Linked DNA regions of Homo sapiens: region 1 is linked to region 2. Evidence: promoter capture Hi-C in human tissues and cell types (Jung and others, 2019). All regions are on one chromosome and are shown on one strand. Each heading gives the region's core, a stretch centred on a gene start or on the middle of the fragment in contact. The rest is flanking DNA. Distances are from core to core; before and after follow the strand shown.

What was found. Contacts are between HindIII fragments. The study calls those that stand out against the background at their distance.
Region 1: a fragment that was not itself captured here is called in contact with the fragment with the promoter of GJA8 in region 2 in 2 of the 25 tissues and cell types used here (IMR-90 fibroblasts and aorta).

Annotation. Positions count from the first base shown.
Region 1 is chr1:147,779,498-147,786,710 of GRCh38, forward strand. The region is part of intron 2 of LOC102723321 (a long non-coding RNA gene); the gene reads left to right. Among named protein-coding and RNA genes, the nearest start is that of GJA5, 23 kb to the left of the region's middle. The HindIII fragment of the contact is 7,229 bases long and covers 2,271-7,213 here.
Region 2 is chr1:147,897,183-147,904,517 of GRCh38, forward strand. GJA8 (gap junction protein alpha 8) reads left to right here and starts at 5,613. Exons shown (of 2, transcript NM_005267.5): 1 at 5,613-5,679. The HindIII fragment of the contact is 8,467 bases long and covers 4,422-7,335 here.

The DNA of each region.
Region 1 (7,213 bases), core at 4,635-7,134, 120 kb before region 2:
ACTTGGCTGAATACACAAGGTAGAATGGACAGGACTTGAGGCAAATAACCTTGTGGTTAAGAGTACTCAGGTTCAGATTTTGGCTCCACCACTTGGCAGCAATGTGACCCTCTATTTCTATATCCTTCTTGCTTTTAAAATGAGTATAACAATGGTAGTTTTTGGTTGGCTATGAAGATTGAGTGAGATATATGTCATATTTGGCATGTAGTGAGTGCTAAATATTCTCTATCATATATATTGTATATAATATACAATATATACCTCTCTATATATACATACATAGCTAAATATACAGAGAGATAGATATATAGATACAACGAATCATGCCATTTATGCTGAAGATAAAAATTAAATTATAAATGGGAGAGTACTCTGAAAGGAGATAAGATTTCACAATGGAAACATGGGTTCTGATGATTATAGCTCTAACTATTGTGCCCACCTTCATTGCCTCCTTTGAGCAAGGCCACCAGATACAGCCAAGCAGTTTGGGCACTGCACACATCCAAAGGCACCATTCACATATAACCTTCCCTTTGTACCTGAGAGCACATGGCAACTACTCTTCAGGTAAGCCTGTGCTTCCCTCACAGTTGTTCCTCCCAGAGTCTGAGGAACAGCACCTGCTCTATAGAGCCATTCACTCATTAGTCCTTAATTCAGTGAAGGTATACTGAGAACATACTCTGTGCAAGGACTGGGCATACAAAGATAAATGAAACACAAACTCTGCCCTGAAGCTCCTGGTGGCTAGGGAGAGAGTCCTGTGCACCAAGAAGTAGAATGCAATGTAAAGAGTGCTAAAGTGCATCTATGTACAAGAGATTAGAGGATTGCCAGCTTTCTTTCTACATGGCAGTGGTCATGGACAGGGGTAGTGTGGGGATTCACAGAAGCAAAAATGAGACAAGTCTAACTCTCTTAAAAAAAAGTTCTCATAAACACCATTTTTAAAAGTCAAGAAAAAGTCAATGGGGTACAGTTTCTTCAGAGAAATCCAGTGGGGATCTTTTGTTGTGGCAGGAAGGGACTCTACTAAGAACCTCTAGCAGAGGCACCTCTGGTAGAAGGAAGGTGCAAAAATAGCTCCCCTAATACCAGCCCAGACCAGAAGAAAGGACAGGGATTTATCACTCATACAGTAAATTTGAAATGTAGATTCTTACCTAACATGAAGATTCCCTTCTCAGGGGATAGACCAAATTCCCTTCTCGGGGGATAGACCAAAGCCCGCCAGCTTTAGACAGATGCCTTCTCTTTGCATCTTCATAGCCTCTTTGAGAGAGGTGAACTTGGAGTCAGGAGATCTGAGATGGAATTTTAACCTTGTCCATTTGTTGTTTTGTGATCTCAGGCAAGTCAATAAGCCTCAACTTTGTTGTCATAATAAGAATTAAGAATGGTCATAATAAGATGGTCTTCACAAATTTGTTCTTTGGACACCAAACACCTTAGTTATTGTCATATGCTCTGGGATAGAGGTGAGATCTTAGGAAGGAGGCAGAGACAGCACAGAAGTCCCTCCATTCACAAACAGGGTCTGCCCACCATCCTTTAAGGAGCCTCTGCAGCTTGTTTATAAAGGAGATCTTGTCCTGAGAGCATTATGCTCCTGAGCTGGCCAGCTCAGCCCTTCCCTGGCTCCAGCGCCTTCATTTGTAAAGAAGGAATTCCAAGGCTATCAAAAAGGAAGTCAGATTGTTTTCGGAAAACAATAGCAAAGTAACTACAAGTCATTAGCTTCCTCTTTGGGGCCTGAAGTCAAGCTTGTCTGGGTAGCTGAAAGGACCGGTAGCACTGTTTACTTAAAGACCTCTGGACAGTACCTATAAATTAATTCCTGTGCATGACTTTCTGGAATGAGAGGAGGTGAGTCATGGAAGTGGGAGGATGCCTAAGAGTAGAGATTTCTGTTTCTTAGGACACAGCTAAATCTCTGATGCTGGCCTTGCCTTTTCTGGTCCTCTGGGTGAAAGTTTCATTTGGATATGTACGTGCACCTAACAGACATCTGCTGTCTGAGATGGCTCTTAATGAGTTTTTTTCCTAGAGCAAAAAGAAAAACAACAAAATATCTGTTTCCTGTGGGTCTCCTGAACGCCTCGAGGAAGCCAAATGCTTCTGAGACAGGTGCTGTAGAAATTGCCTTTTGAACAGGAATTTCCTCAGTGACAGGAGCAGACCAAAGCTGGGAATTGTGAAATTCATCACTCCTTAGAGGACTGTCTCAGTGTCATACAGATATCAAGGAATCACAGATACCAGAACACTGGAGCTTGAAGAGAAACTGAAGATCAAGTGGGCCAGATGAGAACATTGAAGCCCAGAGAAGGCAAGCAATTTATCTAAGGTCAGGAGCAGAAGCCAGATCTCCCAAAGAATCAGGAAACCTGGGGACTTCCCTGAGGGTAGAATGGGCCAGTTATTGATCATAGATATTCCTATGATGCTGTTAGAGCACTTAGCTGAAAGTCCCTGGAGCTTAAATTACTAAAATCTAGAGAAAAGGCATGGTTTCTTGACCTCTCTAGATCCTGGAACAGCTTGTATCCAAGAGCTACACATGATTCTAGACCCTAAAGTTTTCTGAGAAGAGATGCAAAACTTCTACTTGAGCTGTTTTTAAACATCTTTGGTAAAATCACGAGGATCTGTTGAGCTTAATGATTTGAAATTTAGTCCAAAGATTATCAGTATTACCTGCCTGGACCCCTAGAAGATTTTTGGTGGGCTTCATGGAGCATAGAAACCCCTGTGTTCATTTCAAAGCTTTAGGGGAAGAGGGACCACAGTCTTGATCTATTCATAAAGCACTCTTGACCCAAAAAAGATTAAAAGTCACTGTTCTAGGTATAGGAGGTCAAAAAAGATTATTTCACATCAACCTCCAAAGTAATTGAAACAACCACCAAAATGCCAATATGTTCTATCCCTTCCCCAACCTAGAAGCCTCTTATTGAACAGGTTGAAATCTGTTCCATAGGCATAAGGCCACTTCTCAGTTCAGAGTCTTCACCTGTCAAATATAAAAAGGTTTTCTGAGATAAGCATGCTTATTCCTTCCTTTCGTAACTTTCCCAAACTCAAACAGCTAGCCAAGACTGGCACCTCTCATCATGCCTAGTCCAGTATTCTTTCTGCCACCTCAGAAGGTTTTTAAGGATTTATTAAGCACCATTTCTAGATGGTCCTGAAATGGTCCCAAATACTACAGGAGCTATAGGATTACAGGAACTGTCCCTGAATGCAATACGTTTGTAAATGTGGTAGGTAAATGAGTGCATGCCCCTGAAATGAATTATTTCCTTAATGCCTTTCCCAACAGTGTGGACAAGGGAAGTGAGACTGGAGGAGTGCTGGGGGAGACATGAACCCTGGCATAACTGCCCCATCCCTGGACAACTCCAGCCAGCTTGACAATCAATGAGCAGTAATATTCAGTAACTAGGTGCCAATTTCTAAGACCCCTCCGATCTTGAAACCCCTTTGACTGTGTGCTGGGTTAACAAATAAAGCATAAGCCAAAAGACTTGTTCACCAGTTTGTAATCTACTACAAAATAATAGAGATTTTTCAAATAATTAGTGAATAAAGGGGAGGGGGCAAGTAAGCAGGTCTCCAAACTGAAAATAGTTGCATCCTAAAAGCTTCAATGTAAATTGGTGGTGTGGAATTTGGAGCATGTTTTCCCATAGAAATAATGTTATAAAGAGTAGTTAGCTTCCCAGGCTAGCCCATAAAAGCTTATTTCAGGCATAATGTTGCTCAACTACAGTGTTGAGAGTACTAGAGAAGCTAACAACCTAGTTAACATGGTCTCTGGATGGGAGAGAATGATGCCAAGTTCTGGCTGGGGACTCCAGGAATATATCTCCCTCTGAAGAGTTTCAGATTCAAGCGTCTCCACTCCATCCCTGCAATGAGGATGGCGTCTTCCTGTCTCCCTGTCTTCATGGGGAAGGGAAATAATATTTATTGATCACCTAACTTTATTAATGCAAGGACTGACCCACTCAGCATTGTCCCTTTCATAAACTAATATCCGAGACCAACCACAGAAAGAAAGCTTTATATTTTTCAAACTGTTCCAGTCTTTTCCTAATTAGAAAAAGTAATAGCGTATTATTGTAAAAATGTAGGTAATATAGAAGAGTCTAAACATGAGATAAAATCACATATAAGTACTATTAAAATACTGATAGCTTTCTACCACATTTTTGTACTTATAAATGTTTTTAAAAAATTGGAATTGTATTATGAACACTTTTTGGTAATCTGCTTTTTTTCACTTAACGATGTGTCAGAGACGTTTTCTATGTCAATAGAAATACATCTTCTTCACCTTTTTAATGATTATCAGGAGTGTAGTCAAAGAGAATGGCACCCAAAGGCAATGTAATGTGTTTGTATCTTTTCTTTCCATAAGGATGTTACCACTGCACTAGAATTATCAAGGACTAGTATCTGTGCAGTACTCTTTAGACTAATGTCAGGGTATATATATCACCTCCACCCTTTGCTAAGTACCTGGGTTACACAGTTTCCTGCTCTTGGATTTACCAAAATTCATTTAATGCCCTATTATTGAGCACTTCAATTTTGGGTGAATATAAATATCACCATATTGAATGTAAGTGGTGCCCTTTTAATTTCTAAGACAAAGCAACTTGCTGTTAACCCATTTCTTTCTCTGCCCCAAATAAGTTACTCCATGTAATTCTGAGCTGTCCTTTCAAAGCCTTGCAAACAGCTCATGGGAAAAAGCAGAATTTCTGAACAAAACAATTCAAAACAAAACAAAAAATACTAGCTTCCTCCATTCAACCAACCCCTTCTCTACCATACACATAAGACGCAAAAGGAAGTGTGCTGAGCGAGTGGTGAAACACTAGGGCAGATAAGAATAATCTTGACAGGTTCGGAGAAAACCCCTCATGAATCTTGGGAGAAGATTTCTATGGGTAAATGGGGTAAAGGTTCAAATCCTGAAGGGCTAAACCAAACTTTGCAAAAGCTCACCACCACCACAAGCCTGTTACCCCAGAACAGCCAGCTGTGCCTCATGCCTCCAATCCTGCTCTGGTTTCTGTGAATTCACACACAACCCTGGGATTGAAGTACCAGCTCTGCCTGTGGTGGGAAGGACGTGTGTAACTGACAAAAGCTGATGAGGCAGAGAGGGACCAGGGAAATGCAGGAATCAGGTCTCAGGTCCTATCTCTAACACTTAAAGAATTGAGTGCCCTTGGGTTAAGCTACATCAACTGTGCCTTCTACTTTTAAATTTTAATATCTCTATGATTCTAAGTAATTGGTTATCTCCATACCAAGCCAAAGCTTGGAAGAAGTTGAAATTTGTCTTAAGTGCCCAACTGTATTTACACTTGTAGCTCCTCCCTTTCTTTACCTATACAGCACTCTGGGGAGCATGAGAGATATTCTTAGGCCATTTTTTATTCCAGATGGTGCTGCGGTATTGAAAACTTAAGGGTATTCCAAATAAGGAAAATACAAATGAGCAACACTTGGAGGTGTGTTTCAATTAGGATGCTACCAGCCATCAGTAACAGAAACCCCAGCTGGAGTCAAACACACTGACCACTACACTGTGGGAATGCACAGAGGGTGTCAAAGTTAATGGATGGCCCACTTACAGCTGATCCATTTATTTATTCATTTATTCATGTATCCACTGATTTTAAAAACCCACTGAGTTTGGGACTGTGCTAGGAACTAGATATACTAGTGATTCAGACATGGCATCTGAATTAAGAAATCAAAACCTAGGGGTTTTATAAATATCAATGCTCCCTGACCCCTCTGAGAGCTGAGTGATGTCACCAACTTAGAATCCCACAAGACTAGCTGGAGACCTAGTTGGAATAAAAATGCTGCCTTGTTTTAGACCATCAAGTCTATGATAATACTGCGATTTCCAGGAATCTATCTGGATTGAGGGAGCTAGGCAATGCATGCTGACATGGCCTGTAAAAGGGATTGAGGTGGAGCTCTGATCGCAGGAGAGTATAGAATGGAAACCAGAAACTAGGAACCATGGACATCTGCATCTATTCACCCTCCATACAAGGGGGTGTAGGGAGTTCCCATTTACCTCCAGGTCTGGTTTATGAACTGTGGGCCTGCAAGCAGCCTAAACATGATTGTTGATGCTCCAGTGGACCTGAATAGGCAGGGACCATGACAGGTGGCTGCAAACAGATAATAGAGAGCTAACAGAGAATGCCAGGCAGTGGTCTAAGTGCTTAGCAGAGTTTGCTCATTTAACCCTTACAAAACTCTTGGAGATAAGAATTAGTATCCATATTTAACATAGGTAAAAAATCAAGAACAGAAACCTTATCCAAGCTGGTCAGTGGTAGATCTGGGATTTGAATCCAGGCAGTCTAGTTTCAACATCTGTGCACTTAACCACAAAATAAATTATATGACTATGTGAGAAGTGCTACAATAGAGCTACGATCAGAATGCTGTGGGAACTGAGAAAGGAATGAAAGTGCCAGGAAAGGCTCCGCATAGGAGACGACATTTGTGATATGTCTTGCAAAATAAGTAGAAGTTTCAGACAGAGAACTGGAAGTGGGAGAAGTACATCCCAGGCACCATGGGACAGATGGGCAATGGCATTTTGGAAGACTACAGAGTAGTTCTTTTGCAGGAGAGGTGAGCCCCAAATCTGGGGCCTTAGCTCAGGAAGGTTTTTGGTTTTGCTCCAGAAAGAATTCAAGAGTGAGCCAGTGGTAGAAGAAAATAGCTTTATGGAGGTGGCAGTGTTACAGCTCTGTGACGGCTCCTGCAGAACGGGGCTACCCCACAGGCAGTGCGCTGACAGCAGGAGCTCAGGGCAGTTCTACAGTCATATTTACACTCACTTTTAATTACATACAAATTAAGGGGCAGGTTATTTAAGAGATTTTTAGAAAGGGGGTGAAACTTCTGGGTCATTGCCATGGAAAGAGGCAGTAACTTCTGGGTATCGCCATGGCAATGGTAAACTATTAAGGCACTGGTGGACATGTCTTATGGAGCAGTGCTTCCCGTGCCTCTTCCCTGTTTTAGCCAGTCTTTGATCTGGTCCAGAGTCAAGTTCTGCCTAACTCAATTCTACACAGCTGGACCAAAAAGGATGGGGGAGTTTGGTTTCCAAAGAATCCTGAGTTTGGGGCCAGATTGTTAAGAACTTTGTAAACCA
Region 2 (7,335 bases), core at 4,363-6,862:
CCTGGTTTTACCCATGGCCAGTGGCCAATTTCTGCAGCCTGTGCTAATTCTGTCCAAGGTGATGCGGCAGCTGAAAGAACCCAAGACTTTTAGTTAAGGGAGGGGAGAAACTGGGGGGAATGCGGAGAGCCAGACCCAGCCCCTGGCCTGGGTCCTGCCTGCTCTGTGTGCTCAGCACAAGGACAGGAATTGTATCCCCCTTCTGCCTAAGCAGATTGGGAAAGATAACTATGTTAGCAGGAGAAGCCTGGGCCGAGGGGTCGTGCTCTATAGAATTGGCACAATCTGCTCTCATGCATGAGCTGCTCCTATCAATAGAGAGACCTGCCTTACCCTGACAACTCGTCTGTGCTGGAAATCCTCTCTCAAGTGAAAGTCCCCCCAGTTCCCCCCTCCAACACACCCTTTGCCCCTCAGGGCACGGGAGCCCTTGAACCTCAGCCAAATGGTTGTGATGAAGAATTTCTGGCTCCCAACCAAATTGGCCAGGGAGGAGGGAAAGAGAGGGCCATGGCCTGCCTCCTGACCCTCTCCAGGTGGCACAAACAGACCAAAAAAGCAAGTATTGATCTCTCTGCTGGTGAAGCAAAGTACCCTTGGTTTCTCTCTCTGGTGACCCTCTTCCTAATAATGGTGATAGCAATTACTATCTGTCAAGCGCTTACTATGCAAAGTATTGGACTCAGTTTCACACACACTGTTTTATTAAATCACTGCAACTCTTTGAGGCAGACACTGTTCACCATTTTTCACAAGAGAAAACTGAGGCTGAAACCAGGAAAGTCACTTAGGCAAGGTCAGGCAGCTGGCTAGTTAGTGGTGAAGCTGAGACAATCTAACCCCAGAGTCTGGCGTTAACCTCTTCACTGTTCAGTTTCCCACAAGATGGAGGCTCCCAGGCCAAGGTTAGGCCCAGGATTCAGCATGATGGGGTAGACCAGATTCTCCCCCGACCCCTCTCTTTGAGCAACGTACATGAGGCCTCTTTGCACACTCCATGTGCTAAGCATCACATAGGGGACCATGCTTCGTTTACCTTTGTGCTCCCAGCACAGTGCCAAGCACACAGTAGCTGCTTAGCAAAGCCTGTGGTAGAAAGGAAGGATAAAGCTGTACGATGGGCACTGGGTAGTAACTGGCTTCTTGCTGGTGTTGGGGTTTTGAAGACATGCAGGTGAACAAACAATACATAGATGAACAACCAACAGATTAAAATTACATTTCCCAATTATGTTTGTCCTTGCCCACTCTACCACAGCCCCTCTGGCTTCCTTGCTGCCTCAAGCTTCGCCCCCATGCCCTCACGATTCTCTCACCTTCTTGAAAAATTGCTCAAATCTCACCTCAGTGAGGTCTCTTTGGGCACCACCTCCCCTCCACCAGCAATCCCAATCCCCCTCACCCTGCCATATGTTCTCATTTCTGGTACTTACTACCTTCAAATGTTCTGTATAATTCACTCATTCATTGTGTTTAATGCCTATTCTCCACCTCCCCACTAGGAATCTTTGTCTTACCAAAGTGTCCCACACACCTTAAAGGGTGGGAGCTCAACAACTACTTATTGAATGAATCTCTAAACATTGCCCACTAAGTCAGAGCTGGGCTTGAAATACTCAGAGAAGTGACCGGATTCTCCCACAGCCCCCCGTCCTATGTTTCTCAGAGACTCGTTCCCCCTGGCACTTCCCAGTAACTGGAAGAGAGATTCTACATCTCCCAATTCCAGTCACCAGAGGGATTGACTGAGGATGGTCCTCTTGGGCCCCATAAATCTTTCTGCCCTTCTCCTCAGGCCAGGGCTCACCTGGTTCTCCCTAAAGAGACTCTCTGCATATTGAGTCTGTGTCCCATAACTGGAGGCACCCGGAGCCATGGAAAACACATGGGCTTGAGAGCTATGCCACAACCTTAGGGTGTCATTTCAACTCTAGCCTTGGTTTCCTCATCTATAAAATAAGGGCTGGGACCAATGATCTCCTCCAGTCTTTCCCAGTTCTGACATTTTCCCTGTGGAAGTGGGGGAGTGCGTAACCTTGGTCAAAACGTACTTAGAAACAAACCAACCCATGGCCCTGGGGCACAGGACATAGCCACACTCAGATCATAGCAAATATAACCAACAAGTGAACAGGCATTCACAGCATCACATAGGTTAGATTAGCAGCCACCATCTGTTTTCACAAAGCAAAAAAGGCAGTGATTATTATCTCTATTTCACAGATGAGAAAACTGAGGCTCAGAAAGGCTAAACAAGCCACCCGCACACAGGAAGCAGAAGAGCCACACTCAAAGCCAGGTCTTCCAATGGCAAATTCCACAGACTTTCCACAAAGAACTGCCTCATTGCTTTTGAAATGCACCCTGGGCCAGGTGCAGTGGCTCATGCCCGTAGTCCCAGCACTTTGGGAGGCTGAGGCAGGCAGATTGCTTGAGCTCAGGAGCTCGAGACCAGCCTGGGCAATACGGCAAAACCCCATCTCTACAAAAAATACAAAAATTAGCTGGGTGTGGTGGCCTGCGCCTGTAGTACCAGCTACTTGGGGGGCTGAGGTGGGAGGATTGCTTGAGCCCAGAGGTGGAGGTTGCAGTGTGCCAATATCAGGCCACTGCACTCCAGCCTGGGTGACAAAGCAAGACCTTGTCTCAAAATAGAAAAGAAAGAAAAAGAGAGAGAGAGAAAGAAAGGAAAGAAAGAAAGGAAGAGAGAGAGAAAGAAAGAGAAAGAAAGAAAGAAAGAAAGAGAAAGAAAGAAAGAAAGAAAGAAAGAAAGAAAGAAAGAAAGAAAGAAAGAAAGAAAGAAAGGAAAAACGAACCCTGGTAGGAGAATGCCACCATTAGATTATCCAAAATGTCAATAATCTAATAATCTATAAGATTACAGAATATAAAATTGGAACTTACATTTGAATGTGGTTATGTCTCCTATTCTAGACATTTACTTATTTATCTCAAATAATGCAATACAGACACCCTGGGAAGACATCCCTCTGAAAGACCTGAGAAAGTGATTCTTGGTAGGAATAGACAAGTCATCTCTCAATGGTAGCTAAGGTGAGCCTCTTTCCCGATCTCTTTCAAAACTTTCCCCAAGATATACACGACTGAGTGTTTATATTTTCAAGGACTTCCCAGCTACAAACAGAAGAACCAATAACAAAGATAACTTAATCAATTGGGTACTACGAGTAGAGGAGTATCTTCTTTGTTAACAGCGTAAGAAAACAAAGAAAGTGCTAAATTGAAAAGCTAGATTTGTCTAAATCCGAGAGACTATAACTGGTTCAGAGCCTTGTTGACAGCCCCGTTTTTCTGGATTCAAATGCATCCTCTACTACCATCTCTCACAAAATGATGATGAGCGATGACACCACCCACTACATTAGCCAAGTTGGACTGGGAAGCCTTGGATAGGGAGAACTTCATTTTAAAGAGAAGCTTTGTAGATTCTTTTCTCTTCATAGGACTATATCAGGGAGAGCGCAAGCTTCAGGAATCAGCATGTACTGAATATTCCCAAAGAAAGAATGATTGGATTTTTTCCCCTCATCCTCTGACTTCTTACCTTATTGATATTGCAGGGATCAGCCTTGACCATCTATTTTTAACTGAAGGATTTGCTATAGGGCATTGTCCCAGTCAGTGTGGGCCCTCAAACTTGGGAGTTCAAAAGAAATCAGACATCTAAAGTAAACAAGGTTTTGGGCTAGTGACCATTTTATTTAAAATGGAATTGGGGACTCACACAACATTGGTACCATCCTCCTTCAAACTGCCCCCATCAAAATGCAATATGTCCATGACACCAGAAAGGACAGGAAGGGGGGGTGGGGTGGTGAAGCCAGTGCTTAGATTTTTTTTGTCTAGTTTGCCCTCCAAGTTGTCTTCAATTTAGTAATCATACATTGCAGATTTCATAAAACAATCTAAGTTTCAACTATTTTTGCTCCATTGTTTTCACGAATAAACTTGTAGGATAAAATGCCCCTATTTTTGGTTTGGAAATGTAGTCAAAATAACCATTTTTTATACTACCAATAGTCAGTCCCAGATGATGGGACGGGAGTGGGCCTCAGAGAGCATATGTCCATGCCCTCCAAGCATCATTCCTCATTAAGCCACATTAGAATTTAATCCAAGAGCCTCCTGGTGAGCAAAACCATCATATCCCCATTTAACAGATGAAGGCACTAAAGTCTAAAAATGTTAGCTGACATTGATTGAACTTCCGCTACTCAAAAGTATATGTAATTATAAGTGAAACGTGGTGAGAAAGGCTATTACTTTGACAAATGGCACCAGAATTCTTTGGAGTGTTAAGGCTCCTTTCAAAGAGGGAGACCACCCTGCTGAAGGTTTGTTTGTGTTTCTTTTTTATTGTTTTGATCTTTTTAGAAAGCTCTTTCCTTTTATGTTTAGTTGACACATAATAATTGTACGTATTTGTGATACACAGTGATATTTCAATACATGTATACAATGTGTAATGATCAAATCAGGATAATTAGCATATTCAGCATCTCAAACATTTATCATTTCTTTCTGTTGGGAACAATCAAAATCCTCTCCTCTAGCTTTTTGAGACTATACAATAAAATAGTTAACGGCCAGGCATGGTCGCTCATGCTTGTAATCCCAGCATTTGGGGAGGCCAAGGCGGGCAGATCGCCTGAGGTCAGGAGTCTGAGGCCAGCCTGGCCAACATGGTGAAACCCCGTCTCTACTAAAAATAGAAAAAAAAAAATTAGCTGGGCGTGGTTGTGGGTGTCTGTTATCCCAGCTACTCAGGAGGCTGAGGCAGGAGAATAACTTGAACCTGAGAGGCAGAGGTTGCAGTGAGCTAAGATCGTGACATTGCACTCCAGCCTGGGTGGCAGAGCGAGACTCTGTCTCACACACACACAAAAATATAAAAATTAAAATAATTAATTAATTAATGTTAACCATATTCACCCTACAGCACTGCAGACCACCAGAACCCATTCCCCCTATCTAGCTGTGCTTTTGTATCTATTAGCAACATGCTCCCCATCCTTCCTTCCGCCACTACACTTCCCAGCCTCTAATATCCACAATTCTGCTGAAGGCTTTGAGAGACAAGAGCAAACCACCAATAAAAAATGAAATATGGTCCTTTGGAAAGGACCAACCACTCTTGGTGTGACTCAGGGCAGAGGGATTCACACAACTGACCACTTACTGTCCCTACATCATTAAGATTCTCCCAGCTGATGATAAGGCCTTGGGAAAATGCCCCTAGGCTCATGCGCTCTGGAGAGACGCCAAAGGTTTACTGATGTACAGGCCCAGTCTGCTGCTAAAAGAAACTTTGGGAGGCACAGAAGCCCCAGCTAAGCTTTCACACATCAGCTTTCCCCATCCTCCTCCCCTCAGTGCCCAACACAGCTCTCCCATTCTCTCACTCCCATTGTTTCCCAAACATCCCTCCCTTCATAAAAGCTGTCTGGCTGGGAGCTTAAAATATTGCTGGACAGTAAAACCTACCCATCAGGGCCAATCCAGTCATATCTGCTCAGTCGTGCAGCACAGTAGGGGCGGGGTAGAGAAGTGGGAGGTGGGCTTTTAGGCAGCAAAGGAAAGAGACGAAAGTTGCCATTTTGCTGCTGAGCGCCAAGAGAGAAAGAGCACATATTTCTCCGTGGGACACTCCTTGTATTGGCAAGTTTTCCTTGGGTGATATTAGTTTGTAACCTTCCCCCCAATTGTTCTTTCTCAGCCTAATCTAAGGGCCATATATAGGCTTCTCCAAAAGGAAAAAGGTTGCCAATAAGATTCAGTCTTGGGCTGGGATGGCTAGACTTACACTCCAACTCTGAAAACCCTCTTCAAGTTGACCTAAGAACTGGCAGAGGTTTGGAAGGGAGAGGAATGCTGGAATAATCAGCAGGATGGGGAAACAGAGATGTCCAAACTCAAACTACAATTTGACTTCTTAAGCTCTTTTCATGTCTACAGGAATCCACAGGGACCTAAACCAAGTATTTGATATTTATGAAAAAGTTTTGTGCCCTTTTCACTCAAATTCTACAATAGAAATAATAGTCATAATTACTGAATGCTGTGGGGGTAGCGGAGGCTTCGTGCTCAGCATTTTCCATGTTGGAGCATTTAATGGAGCACAGGAAGGGATCTGGCTAAGGACCATAAAATTCCTCCTAGGAGCAGGTTCTGTTGTCTATCTATGAGAACTGCTGGCTAGTGGCTGTTCTAGAAACTAGAAAAGAGGCACTTTCCACCTGGTTACCAACCAGAGTGGTAAGTGGCCATTGAACGCTTTGGATAACTTATTAATGGATGTATATGTGTTATTCTGCCTCTTCAAAACCAGAGGAGGGCTATGCTGTAATGGGCTTAGATCTAGAAGACCAGGGCTCACAGCCTAGCTCTGCCCTCACTAGCTAAGCCCCCATCTTGGAGACTCATTTCACCTCCCAGCCTGTCTTTTTGTCTGGTAATGGGGATTGATAATGCCAAGTTCACTGGTTCTCAGACATCCATCTGGGGATCTGTCAGTTCTAGCTCAAGATGAAGGTTTCCACAACCTGTGACCAAAATGTGACAATGATAAAGTTAACAATGTAGTAAATGTTTCACCAAGTTAAGTGTGTTCAATTTAAAGGCTTGTCTTTTATTCTGAAGTTATGTCCTCTCCAGTTTTGTGGTGTTAAAATCCCCTTTTATGAAATGATGATGAAAATAGACTGTAGTTGTAGTTAGTAATTTAATAACTCTTTTTTTTTTTTTTTGAGACAGAGTCTCGCTGTGTTGCCCAGGCTGGAGTGCAGTGGTGTGATCTCAGCTCACTGCAGCCTCCACCTCCTGGGCTCAAGCAATTCTCCTGCCCCAGCCTCCCAAGTAGCTGGGATTACAGGTGCCCCACCACCGTGCCCAGCTAATTTTTGTATTTTTAGTAGAGATAGGGTTTCACCCTGTTGGCCAGGCTGATCTTGAACTCCTGACCTCAAGTGATCCTCCCACCTCGGCCTCCCATAGTGCTGGGATTACAGGCATGAGTCACCACGCCCAGCCAATAACTCTTATTTTTATGTCCTTGTTTGGCAAAATAAGGAGTTGGTATCCTTATGTTGGTCACACTAGTTTGTTATTATTATACTAGTCTGTGAAATCTAAGTCTGAGAACCACTGGCCTAGTTCACAGCTTGTTATGAGGACTGAAATAAGATACGTGAAAATGTATCACTTAGATCAAGGATACCCAAACATAAGGTGTTATTTTAATCATTACCTCTAGCCATCATTTTCTGGTGGGATGTTCCTGGCCATATATGGACACCCTGGGGTTGGAGGCTTGAA